Linked DNA regions of Homo sapiens: region 2 is linked to region 1. Evidence: promoter capture Hi-C in 16 types of primary human blood cells and fetal thymus (Javierre and others, 2016). All regions are on one chromosome and are shown on one strand. Each heading gives the region's core, a stretch centred on a gene start or on the middle of the fragment in contact. The rest is flanking DNA. Distances are from core to core; before and after follow the strand shown. Region 1 holds the start of TMEM252 (transmembrane protein 252). Region 2 overlaps PIP5K1B (phosphatidylinositol-4-phosphate 5-kinase type 1 beta).

Evidence for each region. The method cuts DNA at HindIII sites, captures the fragments that hold promoters and counts their contacts. A CHiCAGO score of 5 or more calls a contact.
Region 2: a contact is called between a fragment that was not itself captured here and the fragment with the promoter of TMEM252 in region 1, in 2 of 17 cell types (naive B cells and neutrophils). The highest score is 6.1, in naive B cells.

Annotation. Positions count from the first base shown.
Region 1 is chr9:68,539,454-68,544,341 of GRCh38, reverse strand. TMEM252 (transmembrane protein 252) reads left to right here and starts at 3,459. Exons shown (of 2, transcript NM_153237.2): 1 at 3,459-3,805. The coding sequence starts at 3,528. It overlaps TMEM252-DT (TMEM252 divergent transcript), which reads right to left and starts at 3,317. Exons shown (of 5, transcript NR_187592.1): 1 at 3,112-3,317; 2 at 1,700-1,964. It overlaps LINC01506 (long intergenic non-protein coding RNA 1506), which reads left to right. Exons shown (of 4, transcript NR_109769.1): 4 at 739-801. The HindIII fragment of the contact is 3,743 bases long and covers 192-3,934 here.
Region 2 is chr9:68,760,945-68,765,594 of GRCh38, reverse strand. The region is part of intron 2 of PIP5K1B (phosphatidylinositol-4-phosphate 5-kinase type 1 beta); the gene reads right to left. Among named protein-coding and RNA genes, the nearest start is that of PABIR1, 17 kb to the left of the region's middle. The HindIII fragment of the contact is 1,385 bases long and covers 1,085-2,469 here.

The sequences.
Region 1 (4,888 bases), core at 2,210-4,709:
GCACAACAATGACAACCTTCATAACTTCATAATAACACATGATAACTTAGCATCTTTTGCTTACAGTATTATGCTGATTTTGTGTTATTACTGTAAAGTACACTGGTGGCTTATATTTGCAGACTAGAACTGTCTCAAGATGCTATGATGCTCAATTGTGTTAACCAGTTTATAATCAATTAACCTAAGCTTGATGATGGCAACTGAATTTCCAGGTATACAAATAAATTTGAGGGTGAAGCATAGTTCCTAAAAACGATGCTGATCTCTGTTTTTATCTGCGGCATTGTATGTTATTTGACAATGCGAGGGAACACCCTATCTTTTCAACCTAATTTTTCTTATAATTAAAATTACCATTTTAAGCATTGGTAATTTCTTACCAGCGAGTAAAGTTTTAATTATTCATAATAAAATTTTATGATGGGCAAAAAGAGGAACTGAAGCAGAGTCACAGTTTAAAAAATTATAATTATTTAGTAATGTATATTTAATAATAAACATAAACATACAAAATAACCTCAACTTCACCAGTATTTCTCTCTCTTTTGCCTTTTAAATTTGTTTGTTTTTATTTGTACAGATTTAGGAGGTATTTCAGGTACAGTTTTATTACACAGATAGACTGTGTGGTGTTCATTAGTATTTCTTAGTCATTTTGAAGGAGAAATATGGTTCCCTGTGATACTTCATATTTCCATATTGATTTTTTTTCCTTTTCTCGTCTCCTTCCCACAGATGCTGCAAATATTCCCAGCCTTTTCCCCTTGATGCCCAAAATAAATTCCTCAAATACCCTGAGCCCAGGAACTATTCTTAATTTCACATAAATTTTATGTAAAGGGACTGAGTCCTTCCATCCCCCTGCCACTTCCTGGATTTTGCTCTTCCATACCTAATTTCTCACCAAAAACATACCACCACCACCATCACAACAACAACACTGCTGTGGAATGACAGGAGCCTCCTCAAAGGGCACTGGAGGGGAAGGAACTGTCTGACAAACTATAAGGCAATGGTTCTAGTGTACTTTATTGGCATGGAGGAGGAAAAAGTATAGAGAAACTTATTTACTCATGTGTTGATGTGATCACAAGAATGAGGCCTGACCTGTCATAATCCCCAGTCTAATTTCTGCCTCCATTTTTGTCTAAAACAGAGAAGCCCAACTGTCTGATGGGCAGTTCCGATTGAGAGTACTCTTCCTCCATCACCTGATTCTTAACATTATCCTGGGGCTTTACCATCTACCTGTTCCTGGGACCCAACTCCTAGTGCAGACCTTTCAGCTGGGGGTCCTGGGTCTTCCACAGATTTTTGGAATTGTAACAGCAATGATAATAACAATATTGGTGATGGTGATTATAGATAACCTTCACAGGGCACTCTCTGTGCCAGGTACTATGATAAATACTTAACATTGATTGTCTCTTCTGATTTTCAAAGTTCTAAGAGAATTTTTTTAGTTATCTACTGCTATCTAAAAAATGGCCACAAAACTTAGCATATTTTTAAAATATACTTTTTTTAAACTTTTGACCTCTTTTATTTGTTAAAATAGTGACATCCATAAACATGAAATGATTTGATCATAATGCATTCATTGATTATGGCTCTTGCCATCTTGTGGCATCCAGGACCCTGGCTGAAACGTTTTATCTCACAGTTTCTGTGGGTCAGGAATCCGAGTATGACTTACCTGGGTCCTCTACTTCAGGGTCACTGAGTCAAGGTGATGCTTGGGAGCAGAGTCATCTCAAGGCTCAGTGGGATGAGGATTTGATTGCAAGCTCACGTGGTCATTGACAGGATGCAGTTCCTCATGGGCTGACGGACTAAGGGCCTCAGTTCTTCAGTGACTGTTGGCCAGAACCTGCCCTCAATTCCTTGCCTCATGGGCCTCTCCAATATGGCAGCTTCCTTCTTCAAAGGGCGTAAGCCAAGAGGACAATAGAGAGAGTCTGCTAGAAAGATGAAAACCACAATCTTGTGTAGCCTCCACGGAAGTAACTTCCGATCACCGTTACCATATTCTATTGATTAGAATGAAGTCACTAGGTCCAGCCTACACTCAGGGGAGAGGATTACTTACACAAGGACATGAATATCAGGAGGTGGGATCCTTAGGGATCATCTTAGAAATATTCCATCTCACAGTTTGGGGAAGGAGGGAATAAGAGCTGTTTTAAGATTACAAAGACAATATCAAGACTAGAAGATCAAGGTAGTTCAAGGTCGAAATTGAAGCTAAGAAAGGTAAAGGCTAAGGGTTGGAATGGAGAAGTGCCTTATATAGTTTTTGATCCATAGTGTGTACCTCTCTAATATCCGTGTCTCCCAGCCCTAACATGAAGGTAGAGCTAAGGAGATGGTGAGTGTGAGACTAAAGGTTATATGAGGGATTATTAGGGCACGCCACAAAAAACTGCTGCTCTCATTGGGAAAGTAAATGGAAAATAATGGTAATGGAGTAGTGGAGTGGAACAGCAGCAAAGAGGAACTGAAGATAAGCTATCCTGAGTAAAAGCAACCCAGGGTTCCTATGGGAAGGAGACTTTTGGCAGAGACATGCCACATTATCAAATAAAAAAGGGCAGAGCCAGGGCATAAAGCACGTCTGAAATAAGCTATCCACAATCAAAGACAGTCAAGCTAAAGAAAACAAATTCCAGCCAGGAAACAGAAGGCTGGTTCTGGAAAGATTTTTTGAGGCAATGCTACATAGAGCAGAGGTGTGGAGGAGAGGACAGGGAACATTTTTAGCAGCATCCTCTAAAACGAATTCTATTTCATATGTACTTTATGAAAGGGGGAAAGATTGCAGGAATTACAGGCCCAAAATCCCCCCAAATTCCCGAGGCTCTGTCTATTATAGTCCTTTTCTCCAGCACTCTCCTTTCCCTCCCACTCAGGCTCTTTCGATCTTGTCAACAGAGCAGGAACCACGAAGTTCACACTCTGAACTTCTGTCTTGGAATTATGCCAGTATCATAGTGTGGGGGCAATAAGTGGGGATTCATTGAGGGAGGCAAGACAAACATGTTAACAGCCTTGAAGAAATGCCTTTTTAGTACAGAAAAAGGGAGAAGGAATCAGGAAGGGATTTCTTACCAAACCTCAAAGAAGATCGTTCTTTAAAGAGTGCTAACTTCTCCAGCTTTTAGTGGGGAATTGCCCTCCATGGGGATTAAGAGACCAGCGCCTTTTAATCAAAGGAGGGCTGTACGTTCAAATAACTGGGAACAGCTGAGTGTCCCACCCAACTCTGAAGAACAAAACAGCTACACGAAGCCACTCCTGCCTGCAGTATACAATGCTATGTTTTTTGGCTAATTCTCCAAGGATATTACACTTACTTTCAATGGTTAATGAATAGCTTCTAAGTGCCTGTTTCATTTAGTTGTCCAAAGGCCAGTGGGTCCCAGAGCATATAAAGCTGCAAGCTGGCTAATGAGCTCATTCTCTTGGAGCAAGCAGGGAAGCAGAGGAGCAGCAGGGTCAGGGTGCTGGGTTCCTAAGGTGCAAGGATGCAGAACAGAACTGGCCTCATTCTCTGTGCTCTTGCCCTCCTGATGGGTTTCCTGATGGTCTGCCTGGGGGCCTTCTTCATTTCCTGGGGCTCCATATTCGACTGTCAGGGGAGCCTGATTGCGGCCTATTTGCTTCTGCCTCTGGGGTTTGTGATCCTTCTGAGTGGAATTTTCTGGAGCAACTATCGCCAGGTGACTGAAAGCAAAGGAGTGTTGAGGCACATGCTCCGACAACACCTTGCTCATGGGGCCCTGCCCGTGGCCACAGTAGACAGGTACGTGCTGACAGGCAGAGGGACCAAGAAGGGCTGAGATGGGCTGAGTTGTGTAAGATCTGAGTAATTTCTGATCCTACTATGGAGCGACTTACATGTCCCATGGGCTGTCTGTCTAGAACCAAAGCTTTATTGTCAGGGAATTACTCTGGGGTTGTTATTAGGAAGAGTGGCGCCATCTTTGGGGAAAACCATGACGCAGGGGCAACTCATCTCAGAGAAACCCTACCACCACCCCCAGTGAAAACCCACCTAAGCCAATTTAGAAACCCAGGCTCTTTTGTTATATCATGGCAGCTGTCATTAATTAGTGGCAGGTGATGGTTAGTTACTTCCCATAACCTGGCTATGAGGTTCTAAGGAAAGCAAGTCCCAGACCAAATTCTGCCACACAACAAATGAAGAAGCAGGCATAAAATGAGTCCTGGAATCTCTGTGAGCTCAGAAAAGTCCCAGTTTACTGTCCTTTTAGGTGTTGTGATCTCACCTTGCATAAAACATTCCTTCAGGGGAAGGTGATAATATTCTAGAGGCAAGATTCATTCTTTCTCGCCATCTCATACATTAGGATAGTTATCATCAAAAAACAAAACCAAACAGCTAGTGTTGGTGAGGATGTCAATAAATTGGAACGCTGTGCATTGCTGGTGGGAATGTTAAAATGGTGCAACCACTGTGGAAAACAGTGTGGAGACTCCTCTATACATTAAATATTGAATTACTGTTTGATCTGGCAATTCTACATTCTGAGTTTATACACAAAGGAACTGAAAGCAGGGATTCAAATGGATGTTTGTACACCAATGCTTGTAGCAACATTTATTCATAATAGCCCAAATGTCCATCAACAGGTGAGTAGATAAACAAAATGTGGTATATACATGCAATGGAATATTAGCCTTAAAAAGGAAGGAAATCCTGGCACATGCCACCACTTGGATGAAGTTGAAAACATTATGCTAAGTGAAACAAGTCAGTTACAAAGGGCAAATATTGTATAATTCCACTTACATGAGTACTTAGCGTAGTCAAATTCACAGACACAGAAAGTAGAACAGTGGTCCCAGGGGCTGGTGGAAGGAG
Region 2 (4,650 bases), core at 528-3,027, 220 kb before region 1:
TTTCTTAAAATCTTAGGTCCTATTTTGATGGAGAATTTATGTTAAAAGAAAAAAATGCATGCCTTGTACATTTAAAAATAGCTCTGGCACTTCTGCTTGGAACTTTGCTTTAATCCAACTCAGACAAGAGAACGACCATTTTCTCCATGTTGCATTAATAAAAATTTGTACTAGGCATCATTATGAAATATTTGCTAGAACACAGAATTCAGTACAGCACAGGTACACCCTCAAATTTTCAGTAAAGTATAAGCATTTTAATAAATATTTTATGACACAGTTTCATCTCCAACTGCTCCATGGAAAAGACCATTAAAATGTTACTAGTGGCAAGTTTTGTTTCATCACAATGCCAACATCTATAATGTTTGAAATATTAAAAATTAGAAGCACAGTTTTTCTCAGAGCTTTCGTTTTTAAATAAGCACCCATTATGAACAATTGTAACTGATTTCCTTTGGAGTAAAAACATGTAAACACTCACTTTTTTAAAAAAACAGTTAAGAACAAATGACCTGCAAGTGAATTCAAGATAATGAGCAGTGACTGTAGCATTCCATCAAAGCATTTTTGTTGAAATGCTTTAAAACAATATTCAGAATGCATGTTCTAAAAGGCAGGGAATTTACATGGGCCTTCTCCACTTTTTTTTAAAATAAAAATTAGTTTTATTTTAAAATTAGTTTTATTTAGCTTAAAATGCTTCAGTATTTTAAATAACCATCACTAAGGAAATCAAGGTAATTACAATTTCAAAATCAATTACAAAATCAATTTTTCTTTGCTACATTGATGTTTATGGTTAAGAGACCACAGAATGAAGGTGAGGACGAGGAAAGCTTTAGTTTATCACCTGTAACTAGCATAAATTCTTTGTCTTTGCTAGCATTATTACTTTTTGTTTTGACAAATTATTGCCTAATTTGTCTGAGCTTACAATGCTTGGTAGAATGTATAAGGTAACATTATAGCATTAAACAGTAGTATGAAAATCCAGTAAAATAAATGTTTATATCCCTAAAGCATTCACTAGAAAGATACCCAAATTCTAAAGGCCTACAGTAGTAACTTGATGAGTTAAGCTTATTATTATACAAATATAGCAACTTCATGAGACAAATTTTATACTCCCAACTCATTCATTGAACTACAGGTCCTCAAACAGAATGGATCTCAAAATCTAATGTTAGAGATGATTAAAACAACAAGTTAGGAAAATAAGATGACATTTAGAAGTGAAAATGCCATCCTATGTAATCAATAGTACTGTGAATTCTCCCACAGTGGATGGGTTGAACTGACTATTCCCAAAAATAACGCACTGTTTAGGTGCTGAATGCAATGAATAGATGAACACTATGGAGACCACTTATTGTTGAGATAAAAGTAAACCCCAAAATATCACCAAAGAGCAGCCACCTTTAAAAAAATCAAGATGAACTGGAAAACCATTGACATCTCCTGAAAGCATGCTGAAACAAAGGTGATGATTCCAAAAAAAAAAAAAAAAAAAAAAAAAAGAAGTTATAGTAGAGGGGTGTCCAAAAAAGGGATATCTGTAAAAGGAGAGGGAGGAGAAGATCAGAGTGTAACCAGCATTTCCAGAGAAGGTACCAACCAGGTCCTGTTTCTCATCTCCCTGCCAGACATGTAGTAAGTGAGCAAGGCTAATCCACCAGCCTTTCAAAGCACTCATCTACATTTACTCTGACTCTCCTCATCCTCACTTAAGAAACCATGTGATGTTCACATAGGAGCTCAAGGAGATTTACCAATTCATAGGAAGGAAATACACCACCTCATTGCCATAATTATCACAGCATGCTGAGTGGTTTCTATTTTGAGTGTAAATTGATAAAATGGCATTTTTCTTCATCAGTCTCTCTAAATGATTTCAAGTAGTATGCATCAATTCATGGGGTCTAATCAGCCTTGCTAAATGATGACACGGAGTTTATAAATCTATAGAGCTGTGAATTGTATTTTTTTTTAACATCCTTCACAATTTCCCCAGCCAACAGTATTATGTCAAAACTCCTTAGCACAGAATCTGTAGCTTTTGCCTAATTTTTCAACCTCATGTAATATCATTGTGATCATCATCATCGTCTCAAAGGCAGCTGACATTCGTTGAGTGCTTTTTTATATATCAAGCCTAACCTAAGCATTTTACTGATGATATCTCATTTAAAACTCACAAAACCCCACAAGGTAGGTAGTGTTGTTTTATTGGTTTTACTAAATGGGGAAGTAAAGCACAGGAAGGTTAAACGCTTTGCCTCATTCACATGCCCACATGAATCTCACACTTAAGTCATACTCAAATATCTGCAAGTCTTGTAAATGTAGCATGCTTTTGCATACCTCTTTTCCTCTGCACAGGCTGCTGGCTTGGCCCAGAAAATCATCCAACTTTTTCTTGTCTCACCATTTCCTATTGATCCTTCAAGACTCTGTTTGAGCAAAGCTTCCTCTGAAAAACCCAGATATCCCGGTCCATCCTAAGAAAAGTCAGATGCTCCCTTCTTCTGTGCTCTTATTACCGTATGTACCCATTCACACATAACATGAGTCTGTTTGTGAATCTGTTCCCCACTGTGCACAGCCTCTGTCATAGAGAATGCCAGGATCCTTGCATTAAGCCTCATATTCGATAACTGCGCTACTCCAGAGGGTACCACTCATATAGACTACAGAGTGAGGAAAATGTTAACACGTGGAGTTGTACAGTATGGGAGCTCTAAGGATAGTATCCCCATTGTCTTCTAAAGGAAGTGGCACATCCCATACACTCATAAACGTTTCTAAGTGACTAAGTGGCTGAAACAGAGATCACAATAAATGTGAAATGGAACTTAACCACTGAGCCCTCTTAACCAATGTATTATCCTCTAAATCAACACTTCATAAGTGCAAGTCTAAATAATACCATTAACCTAAAGATAAGTGTTAGTTCTGTTGCCCACTATAAGTACACTCAGAAAAATCTCTGGTTTATCTCTTCTATATCAGCTTCCTGTGCATTTTCTTTAAATGTTAACAATGAATTTTGAAGATTTCCTTCTAAGCCTTTGATAATGGCATAATTAATCTGCAAATAGATGTGGCATTTCCAAAGACGCAGATAATTATAGTGAGAACTACACATAACAAATCTACCCAAGAGTGGACTGAAATGCAAATTAATACAGTCTAATTTTTCTATTTTAATGAGCATGTTCACTATGGGCATTATGAATCTGTATTCAGAAAAACAACATTCCACGACTTTCAGCCACCTGCTCAGCAGGGAGAAAAAATTGCACAATGAACTTTGGCAAACATTTATGATATTTTTGATTAGAAATAAAAAAAATTAAGCTTAGATAATGCATTTTATTTCTTTTAAAAGGACATAGTTTCTGTCTTTTTGTGGATAGGAACATGATCTTAGGTAAAAGAACCTTCTACACATAACCAGCTTTAAGAAATAGCTGGAGATTGTGACAGCTTTCCCTGAAGAGAATCTCTTCAGTTAATCCAGGACATTACTTAGCCCTAATTTTTTCAGTTGATTCCTGCCATCCATTAACTAATTCAGAGTGCGAAAAGGGAACAGAGGAAAATAAATTACTAGCTCTGCAATTATTGGTTAAAACTTTAAAAACTCAGAAAGATGGCAATGCGATAGGCAGAATAATGGCTGCCAAAAGATGTCCACATCCTTACCCCTGGAAACTGTGACTATAGTCTATCACACGGCAAGGGGAATTAAGGCTGCAGGTGAAGTTAAGATTGCTAATCAGCTGACCTTAAAATAAGATTATCCTGGATTATGCAGTGAGCACAGTGTAGTCACAAGGGTTCTTTTAAGAGGGAGGCACAAGAGTCAGTGTACAAATGGTATGATGTGAGAAAGACTTAACCAGCTACTGCAGCTTTGAAGACGGAAGGAGGCCATAAGCCAAGGAATGCAGCCTAACTCTAGAATCTGGAAAAGGCAAGAAGAGGAATTCTTCCCCAGAGCCTCCAAAAGGAAGGCAGCCTTGTAGACATCTTAATTTTAGTCCAGTGAGACCAATTTTGGCCTTCTCACTTCCAGAACTATGAGATAATACATTTGCATTGTTTTAAGCCACTAATTCTGTATAAATTTGTTACAGCAGCAATAAGAAATGAATATAGGAAATTTCACCTCAGAGAAGAAATAAATTATTTCTGTAATCTCTAAAGCATGTGAGTATTTCTTCCCCCAAAGGAGAGACAAGAACTCCAGCAGACTACCATATCTTAATGATCATTGCCTTCTCTACCATAATACTTTGCAGCAATTTTATAGCAATGGTCTGAAATATATTCGAATTGGTATGGAATTTTGAGGCTTTGTGCATGCAAGATTCATTCCATTTTACAAGAGCCAGAGAGACCTCAGAGAGGAACATCTGGTCCACTCCATGTAATTAATGTGCAAATGAAAATATCCACATCAGAAGGCTTGGGTAATACCATACTCCAGGCCTCACAGCTAGTTAGTTGCATAGCCAATATAAGAATCTTCATTCTCTCTCTCTCTCTCCAATTATTCTCCAATTCCTTATGCTACTAGTAACTAGGATTAAATGCTACATATAAAACTAAAACTAAAACCAAAATGATCACTATCTGCCAGAT